Linked DNA regions of Homo sapiens: region 1 is linked to region 2. The links are contacts of gene promoters, found by promoter capture Hi-C in human tissues and cell types (Jung and others, 2019). All regions are on one chromosome and are shown on one strand. Each heading gives the region's core, a stretch centred on a gene start or on the middle of the fragment in contact. The rest is flanking DNA. Distances are from core to core; before and after follow the strand shown. Region 1 overlaps POC1A (POC1 centriolar protein A). Region 2 holds the start of GLYCTK (glycerate kinase).

Evidence for each region. The method cuts DNA at HindIII sites, captures the fragments that hold promoters and counts their contacts. A contact is called where the count stands out against the background at its distance.
Region 1: a contact is called between a fragment that was not itself captured here and the fragment with the promoter of GLYCTK in region 2, in 1 of the 25 tissues and cell types used here (dorsolateral prefrontal cortex).

What each region holds. Positions count from the first base shown.
Region 1 is chr3:52,106,668-52,111,756 of GRCh38, reverse strand. All of the region lies in intron 9 of POC1A (POC1 centriolar protein A), which reads left to right. Among named protein-coding and RNA genes, the nearest start is that of LINC00696, 44 kb to the right of the region's middle. The HindIII fragment of the contact is 6,699 bases long and covers 1-4,638 here.
Region 2 is chr3:52,285,726-52,290,364 of GRCh38, reverse strand. It overlaps GLYCTK (glycerate kinase), which reads right to left and starts at 2,537. Exons shown (of 5, transcript NM_145262.4): 1 at 2,489-2,537; 2 at 1-61. The coding sequence starts at 22. It overlaps GLYCTK-AS1 (GLYCTK antisense RNA 1), which reads left to right and starts at 632. Exons shown (of 1, transcript NR_046719.1): 1 at 632-1,785. It overlaps LOC107986086 (a long non-coding RNA gene), which reads left to right and starts at 2,345. Exons shown (of 3, transcript XR_001740699.2): 1 at 2,345-2,532. RefSeq lists enhancers at 2,770-2,879, 1,706-2,905, 2,211-2,952. The HindIII fragment of the contact is 16,985 bases long and covers 1-4,639 here.

The sequences.
Region 1 (5,089 bases), core at 40-2,539, 180 kb after region 2:
CTCTGTCTGAGCCAGAGATGGCTTGGGTGTATATGGCTTAACATTTGAACCCCAGATGAAGGTCTTATTTGCAGAGCCTCTTTTTTTTTTTTTTTTTTTTTTTTAATTTTGAGACAGAGTCTAGCCATTCTTGCCTAGGCTGGAATGCAATAGCGCGATCTCGGCTTACTGTAACCTATTCCTTCCAGTTCAAGAGATTCTCCTGCCTCAGCCTCCTGAGTAGCTGGGATTACAGGCACCTGCCACTACACCTGGCTAATTTTTGTATTTTTAGTAGAGACAGGGTTTCACCATGTTGGCCAGGCTTGTCACAAACTCTTGACCTCTGGTGATCTGCCCGCCTTGGCCTCCCAAAGTGTTGGGATTACAGGCATGAGCCACCGTGCCCGGCCTGCAGAGCCTCTTGAAGAGGTGCCTCCAGGTAGCAAGAGCAGAGACAAGCCCTGAAACAGCGATTAGGGTAGAGGTGGCAAGGTTGGAGTGGAAGCCAGAACTCCCTTCTCTGAACTGCCCCCTTGAGGGGCTAATGGTGTTTCCTGTCACTAGAAAAATTTCCATCCATTCTAAAAGCAAGTAGGTTCCTCTCCAGAGGAGAGTTCATGATGTTGAGGAAGGAAGGCCTATTTAATGACTTAAACCAATGGGAGGTGTGTTCTCAGACATCCAGGGAAAAGCATATTAAGACAATCACAGTATCAGGAAGACAGAGCAACCTGACTCAGGAACTCAGACAAAGGCTGGAGGCCCTTGGGTCCAGCTCTGCGTGCATCAGTACACATTTGGCATATAAACCCAGGCACACACACTCCTTTGAGAGCTTCGTTATCTCTTTCGAGAGTTCCAGAACTGTTTTGGGTTTTCCTTTTCCCCTGGCAGCCAAAGCTTGGGCTTAGGGTTATTGGAGCTTCCACATGTGCATGTGGGGAAATGAACCTGAGTCACAGGACAGAAAGTGGAGTCTCAACACTGTGATGCTTTCCTACAAGGCACACATGGCCCCAGGCAGAGCCAGGCTGCATGCCTTGAAGGACCTTTTGCTTCACACACTGGGGCCACTGCTATGACACTGCCTTTTTGCCAATAGTGATGACAGGCAATCTAAAGCCCCATCATCACCTCTCCACAGGAGAGCCCACAGAGGCCACAAGAATCGTCTTGTAACAATTGTTTGCTGCAAAGCAGAGAGGGTGCACAAGAACCGAGGGCTTTGGCATTTAAGGATCTTTCTTCCCTTTTATTTTGTTCTTTTGTTTTCATTCTATTTTTTTAAGCTCAGAAACCTGAAAATGAAATAAATGAGCCACAGGTAGAAATAAACCTGTCGCTTAAGTCTGACTGATTTTTGGGGCCACCATTCACTGCTCCTAGTGTTGTTGCGCTCATCCTTATAGTCTCTTTCCAGATGGCACCTCCTCCATGCAGGCTTCCTTGGGAGGCTGGCAGCTGGTGAGTTCTTCCTGCTCCACCTGCCTGGAGCACTCTCCTACCTGGAGCAGCCCCGCTCTCCTGTTGTCTGTTATTTACAGACCTAACTTTTCTCCCTGGAGGGCTGGGGCCTTGCTCTTGCCATGGTGCTCAGTATGTGTCTGACACATAAAAAATGCTCAGGAAGTCAAAGCATTCTCACGTCTGTGGGCAGCATAAGTTGAGTGTGTGAGGCTAGAGGCGGGCTGTCTTTCCTTTTGGCATTTTTGATGGTCTCAGACTAAAAGAAGGAAGCTACCTTCTGGCCTTATTTGTCAGTTTTGGGGGGCAGATGACATGGGGTGGTGTGGGCAGTGGCAGGGCAACAGAGGGTGGTAGAGTCTGCATGCCTAGATTAGAAGTTTCAGAACTTCTTTTCATTTTAAATGGAAAAAAACCCTTTGTGGTTTATATTTTCCAGATTGGACAGCAGCATTGCCATGTGGTGTAAGGGTGTTGGATAGTGCTTGTGTTTATGTTCTTATTGGTTGCCATGGAAAAAAAATCAGAATAGATGGTTTCCATGGAGATTATCTTACAATTAGTTTCTTTGAAGGTCCGGACATTGCTGCAGGATTCGCTGAGTACTCGTTGCCATCAGGGGCTTTCTCTGTGGCAGTGCTAAAGGCTGGTCAGAACGTTCCGTGGACTTAGACAAAGTCATCTGCCTCCTATGCTTGCAAATCCCAGGACACCAGAGTGGAGGTGATCCTGTGGCTGAGCTTCCTCTTGGAGTCCCACTTGCCTTGGATCAGCTCCGCAGCTCCTTTCAGTCACCAGGAAGGTTTTTTTTTTTGTTTGTTTGTTTTAATTAAACAAAACAAAACAAAACAAAAACCTTTGTATTGTGGAAATTTCAAGCTAGCACAAAAGATAGAATAATGTAACAAACCCCATGTACCACTCACCTAGCTTCAACATTCTGCTAATCTCATTTCATCTGTTTCCCCCACATTTTAAAGAAGAGTTTGAGTGGTTTTAAAAATCCCAGATATATCATTTTTTACTCCAAATAAGGCCATTTCTTAGTTATATAATAGCAGTGCTCTTATCACATCCAATGAAATTAATAGTTCCTTCATATCAGATATCTAGTCCACATTCACATTTTCCCACATTGTGTCATTGTTCAAATAAGGATGCGGAAAGCTTTGAGAAAACCCATGTTCTCTGCTCCCCCTTCCCCGACCCATGGTTCTGGTAGGCGGAGTAGCTGAGGGGGCTTTGGCCTGGAGCTGTCTTGGGCTTGGGGAAGGGGGCGCGTCTGGGCTCACACCACACTCCTGATGTCCTCCAGGAGAGTTTGGTACTGTGAGCTCCTCGCTCCTTCCTGGAGGTGGGTCAGGCACAGGTGGGCTAGCTACTGCCAGCTATCTTGGGCCAGGCATCCGCTGGGGGGCACTGGCTGTCTTTGAAGCCTGCAGGGGGAGGGAAGGGAAGACGTGATGTAACCTTGGTTCATAACAGCTGTCTGCGACTTCATTTTCCAGGAAAGGAGAGGCTGTTTGACCCCATGGGACACAGCCTTCTGCAACTCCTCCCTGGGAATCGTGGGGCTGCTGGTGGAGGGCTCTGGCTGATCTGCTCTGGTGGTTCTGAGGGCTCTGGTGGAGGGCTGCTGCTTTTGCGGGTTGGGTAGAGCCAGTCCTGGTTATCTATCTTGGCAGGCTTTGCTCGTGTCCTGTGATGCTGCACAAAGTATGAATTACGGAGCTTGGGAGTGATGCCTGGGGTGTGGTCGGTGGCTCTAACACTCTCCATTGAACTAAGTGCAAGGAGAGTTTAAAATAGCCAGCCTTTGTTCCGAGGTTTTAAAAATTCAACTCCAGTAGTTACAATGAGCTGTCTTCAAGTGGATCTATAAATAAACCGCTACTGTTCCTCTTTGTCACTGAGAGCTGTGGCGTCTCCCAGAGATGTCGGCTCTGCCGCTCGTCTTCATTAGATGCCTCATCTGTGGGGCAGCTGCAAGTGGAGCTGACACACAGAGTTTGTAATGACAGCAACACATTCCCTTTCAAAAATCCACAGTCCCCAAAAATTAACTACACAGGAAAGATAGTAACTTTGCATTGTAGAAACCTGGCAGAGAGGTCAGTGTCACCATTGATCAAGGTCAACATTCCCTGTAATAAGCCCTTCCATGTGAACCCTGTGTTACTGTGCACATCACTTTTCTGGTGGTGTCCAGTATTTATAACCTGAATCTAATGATAAAACCCAAGTCAGGGAACATTTGATAAAATAACTGATCAATATTCTTCAGAAGTGTCAAGGTCATGAAAGACAAGGGAGGACTAAGGAACTGACACAGATGGGAGGAGGCTAAATACATAATAAATGCATCGGTAGGATTCTGGAACATCAGGATCTAAGCACATTAGTAGAAAAACTGGTAAAGTTCAAATGGGGTCCCTATTTTGGTTATTGGTATTGTCACAGTGTTAGTTTCCTGGTCTGATCATTGTCCTATGGTTGTGTAAGACATTAACACTGGCAGAGGGATATATGGAAATTCTCTGTACTATTTTTTGCAACTTTTCTCCAATTCTAAAATTAGTTCAAAGCAGTTTAATATAAAAGAAATCTACAGTCAGCACTTGGGCTTTATCGGAATCCTTGATCTCCCTACCAGGGTACCTCGGTTCAGGTATGTGCTGTGGGAGGGTAGGCATTTTTGTCTCCAGGTATTGGGTAGGTAACCCTAAGATACTCAGCACCAGCTCGTAGTGAGCCCTTGGGAGTGTACGTGGAGCTGAACTGAACCAGAGCCGCCCTCAAGGAAGCGGGTGTGTGTTGAGAGAGAATGCTCCCACACAGGTGTTGGGCAGGGCGGGTTGCCTGCTTGCCTGTGTGGTGGTTTCTGAGGATGCTCCAGAGGTGCATCTGCTCCAGGAACTCCAGAACAGACTCAGCAGGAGTGTGGGCCTGGCCCAGGATGGACCTGCTTCCTCCTGAGGCTTCCTAGCCTCCACCATGCAGTCCTCCCCCTCTGTGTTCCTAAAACCGGCTCCACCTTGCTGCCCCACACCCTTGTGTGCATTTCTCACTGTAACAAGTGTGATGACCTGGAGGGCTCCAGCTTCTAAAGGCTGGGGTTGTTTTCCAGCCCGCTCTGAACCCTTCCAGGGAAGGAACCGCACATGCCAAGGCATGTTCTTGCTGCTTCCTCACTGCCTCTACTGGTTTGAAGTTACTTAGCCGTCACCTCCCTGCTTCATCTCGCTCTCTTCTTCCTGGCTTCCCTCACCTCTGTGTGTCACTTCAGTAAGATAGACCTCTCAGATCAACTTCTTCCTCCTGGGGGCATGTCGGACACCAAATAACTTGCCATTTCTTGCCTATCAAGGCAATCCTTTCACTGTTTTGAAAAATCACCCCTTTGTGTGGGGGAAAATTCTTGGAAATGCTTGCAGAGAGAGGCTGGGGAGTCAGCAGATTGATGGGGGTCAAGCCCAGGAGTGGCCATCACAGCCCTGGGGCAGGTCCTCCATCTTGCCATGGGCCTGGGTGAGGAGAACAGAGTCTTGGTTTGTGCATACAGCATCTCCTACATGCCCAAGGCCTGCGAGCAACACAGGTGAAATAGGATGACAGGCACCTGTGATCCCTGCCTCAAAGGGAC
Region 2 (4,639 bases), core at 1,288-3,787:
GGACCTGCAGGGCTGCAGCCATGCCCCACTGCTCTCAGCACTGCCTGGCACCCATGGCTGCCTAGAGGGAAAAAGCACAACTGAGGCCCTTGCAAGGCAAAAGACAGGAGGTCCCCCACGGCCGCCCCTCTGAGGGCTCAGGGCCAGTGGACCCCACAGCTGCTGCTACAAGAAGGAGCCATCTGATAGCCCCAGGAGACTTCCTGAAGCCTGCAGCTGCAGGATCTTACTCGTCCTTGGAGACCAGCCCTGCCACCCAGCCACGTCCTCCTCTTCTGCAGACCACATGCCGGCCCTCTGGATACTCTGCCTCAAGTCCAAAGTTCCTATTAGCTGGGCCCTCCTCCCAGGTCACCCCTTTGGCTGGGAGTTAATCATTGACAGAGGGAGTAATTTCTACCAGTGGGCTCCCATCCCACCCCTTTTCCACCCCCTGCACTTCTGCGCTGTTACCCTGGGGCAACGCCCCTTTCTGGCACTCCTTCCTTGCCTCTTTACCACCTCTGCTGCCAGGAAGCTGTTGATTGTCCCACCAACTGACCCTGAGCCCATTGACCTCCAGTCTTCTCTATTTCATTATCTCATGAGACTGGGATTAGGAGCCTGGGAAGTCAGGGTCTATAGGAGGCTGCAGGTTTATCAGGTCAAACCCAGAACACATCCTCAGGGCAAGCAATCTGAGGAATCTCAGTATGCAGGACCAGTTCAGCAAGAGGTTTAGGTTCAAATCAGGAGTGAGGGCAAAGTCTGGCTCATGGTGGAACCTTAGAAAAGTCCCCAGGCACCATGTGAGGCCATGTGCCATGAAGCCCAATTGCAGGACAGAAAAGGATGCCCTTCTACCCACACAGTTGGCCAGACCCAACCCTGCCAAGAACACGCCTTCTGGTTCCAAGATAACAAAAACAAGTCCTAGGTCACACCACCCACAGTGGTGAGAGCCCAAGGGCTGAAGTAGGCAAAGGCCAGGCTCCCATAACTGAGCCCATAGCCATTTTCCCCACTGGGCAGAGTAAAAGCTAAAGAAGCCTTGGGGCGAAGGTCAGGAAGCTGTAGAGGGGTATAGGAACAACAAAGACCCAAACAGCTCATCTGTACTACATATGTACTATTGCATCTACTTTAATAAATGCCTACCATAAATGTTGCAAGCTGACTTCATCAGCAAGTATGGACTGAGCAGGGTAAGGAGGCTGGGAATTGAGGTTCCAGCTCTACTATAGGCTTTCTGAGTGGCTGGGACACCTCCATTTCTCTCACTGGGCCTCATCCGCAAAATGAGACATGGGGTGAGATTAACACTACGCTCTTCCCTTAACAACCTCAGGCTCTCTGATACTGTCCACTGCAACACAGATCTCAAACACCGGTTTACCCCACACCCAAATATGGTGGTTACTTCTAGACTTTGACCATTTTGCTTGCCTAGTTCTCAGCTCTCCGGTAAGAAAAGACAGCCATGCCTGACTTCTGTTGTGAAAGGGAACACAGAGGGCATCGTCATGGGGATTCCGAAAATGGGTCCAGTTTTGGCCAGGGGGACCCCTGGAGCTTGCCCATTGGACTTGGAGCTAAAAGCATCTTAGCAACTAAGACAGCCGGTCTTTATAGCCTGGATGAAATTTGTATCTATTTCCCAGATGGACAAGAGCCTAGAAGATCCCAGCCTTGCCACTGGGTATGAGCACAGGACAGGGGGACGCTCAATGCTAAGGCTGCCAGAGAAAATACAGGACTTCCGGTTAAATTTGAATTTCAAATAAACAAGTAATTTTTAAAGTATAAGTATGTGCATACAATGTTTAGGACTTAACAATTATTCGTCGTTTATCTTAACTCAAATTTAACTGGACGTGGCCCGGCGCAGTGGCTCACGCCTGTAATCCCAGCACTTTGGAAGGCTGAGGCGGGCGCATCACCTGAGGTCAGGAGTTCGAGACCAGCCTGACCAACGTGGTGAAACCCCGTCTCTTCTAAAAATACAAAAATTAGCCGGGTGTGGTGGGCGCCCGTAATCCCAGCTACTCGGGAGACTGAGGCATGAGAATCATTTGAACAGGGGAGGCGGAGGTTGCAGTGAGCCGAGATCGCGCCACTGCACTCCAGCCTGGGTGACAGAGTGAGATTCTAACTCAAAAAAAATGTAACTGGACGCTTTGCATTTTTATTTGCTAAGTCCTCCAATTCTATCCAAGACACGGTCTCTCCGAAACTCCGGGAGGCTCCAGAGCAAAACAACGGAAATAGGAAGACTACCGGTCTTGACTCCTCCCCGCCATCAAAGAAGGCTGGTACCATTTCCGGCTTTCCCTAGACAGTAGGGGGCCGGAAGTGACGTCATCCTAAGGTAGGGCCTTAGCGAGGGAAATGGCTGCCGCGTAATGCCCGGTGATGCGAGAAAGAAGGGCCTGCTGCCACCAGGACCCGTCATCGCCCAGCCCAGGGACCGCTTCTGAAGGCCATGCGAGCCCTGGCGGCGCAGACTTACCAGCCCACAGCTCCGGCCGCGGTGCCCAGCGCTGGAGAACGGAAGTACTAGGGGGTGGGCGGAGCGGAAGCCGGAAGTGTGGGTGGGTGGAGCGGCGCAGGCGGGTGCGAGCTCTGGCTGAAGCCGGTGTCCGGGAGGGGAGAGTTTAGCATATTGGCTCTTTGCTGGCCACTGACAGACCTGGAAGGAGTCACCTTCAGTCCTCATTTTTTAAATCTCTACATTGAGGGTAATAATCCCCGCCTCACCGATTGCCGATTTTTTTTTTGAGACGGGGTCTCATTCTGTCGCCCAGACTGGAGTGCAGAGTCGCGGTTTCGGCCCAATGCAACCTCCGCCTCCCGGATTCAAGCGATTCTCATGCCTCAGCCTCCCGAGTAGCTGGGATTACAGGCATGTGCCACCACTCCGGGCTAATTTTTGTATTTTTTAGTAGAGACGGGCTTTCGCCATGTTGCCCAGGCTGGTCTCGAACGCCTAACCTCAAGCGATCCACCCACCTCAGCCTCCGAAAGTGATGGGATTACAGACTTCAGCCGCCGCACCCGGCCTCTCCCTTCCTTTATCCTGTACGGTCAGTCAGCAGATGCACCCTGAGTGTCAGGCACTGACTGGGCTGAGCAAACGAACTGAGAATCACTACTTCCCCACAACTCACCCCTTCTGGAGCCAGATTAAGTAATTCCCGCTCCTCTCCATGGCTTTTATTCCACAACTTATTATTGTTCTTCCCTCTCCCACCATGGGCCACCAAATACAGCTCTGGCTTAGCAAGAGTTCCATTCTGCGATCCTCAAGCACATAAGCGGCATGTAAACGCTAATGACTCTGGGCCTACCTCGCTGTCCCTACTCTCATCCGGGGCCTACCCTGTGTTGGCTGGATGCCTTCCCACATTCATAAGATGAGTCCTGATCAGACTCCAAAAATACAAAACAGTTCACTGTTTTTACTGATGTTTTCTTAGGGAGATAGAGGAGAGAGTTGCATCACAAATCACACACTTGATTTCCTAACAATTTTATTGAAACATGTTTCTTGGCAGGGCGCAGTGTTTCACGCCTGTAATCCCAACATTGGGGAGGCCAAGGTGGGCGGATCGCTTGAGCCTAGGAATGCGAGACCAGCCTGGGAACATGGCGAAACTTATCTCTACCAAAAAAAAAAGAGCCAGGTGTGGTGGCATGCTCCTGTAGTCCCAGCTACTCAGGAGGCTGAGATGGGAGGATCACCTGAGCCTGGGAGGTAGAGGCTGCAGTGAACCTTGATCACGCCACTGCACTCCAACCTGGGCCCCTGTCTCAAAAAAAAACCAACAAACAAAAACACATTTCTTTCTCTTGGTTTTGAGGTGGAGTCTTGCTCTGTCACCCAGGCTGGACTGCAATGGCACAGTCTCAGCTCACGGCCACTGCACTGCAGCCTGGGCACGATGTCGGCTCACTGCAACCTCCGCCTCCCAGGTTCAAGCAATTCTCCTGCCTCAGCCTCCCGAATAGCTGGGACTACAGGCGCCCGCCACCACGTCCAGCTAATTTTTGTATTTTTAGTAGAGACAGAGTTTCACCATGTTGGCCAGGCTGGTCTCGAACTCCTGACCTTGTGATCCACCGCCCTTGGCCTCCCAAAGTGCAGGGATTACAGGCGTATAAACAATTACAGGCGCCCGGCCTATATAAACAACCTTCATCTTTCCCCATGCTGGAGAACACTAATTGCCACTGCTTGGTGTCTGTGTTTCCCTGGATGGCTGCCCTCACACTTTATGCTTGAATAAATTCTTTTAACTGGATATCGAACCTTTTGATGATTTTTAGGTTGACATTAGAAATGTGTTTTTGGGACAGGTGCAGTGGCTCATGCCTGCAATCCCAGTACTTTGGGAGGCTGAGGCAGGTGGGATCATTTGAGGTCAGGAGTTCGAGACTGGCCTAACCAATATGGTGAAACCCCATCTCTACTAAAAAATACAAAAATTAGCTGGGCATGGGCCGGGCACAGTGGCTCACACCTGTAATCCTAGCACTTTGGGAGGCTGAGGCAGGTGGATCACCTGAGGTCAGGAGTTCAAGACCAGCCTGGCCAACATGGCGAAACCCCGTCTCTACTAAAAATACAAAAATTAGCTAGGCATGGTGGTGTGTGCCTGTA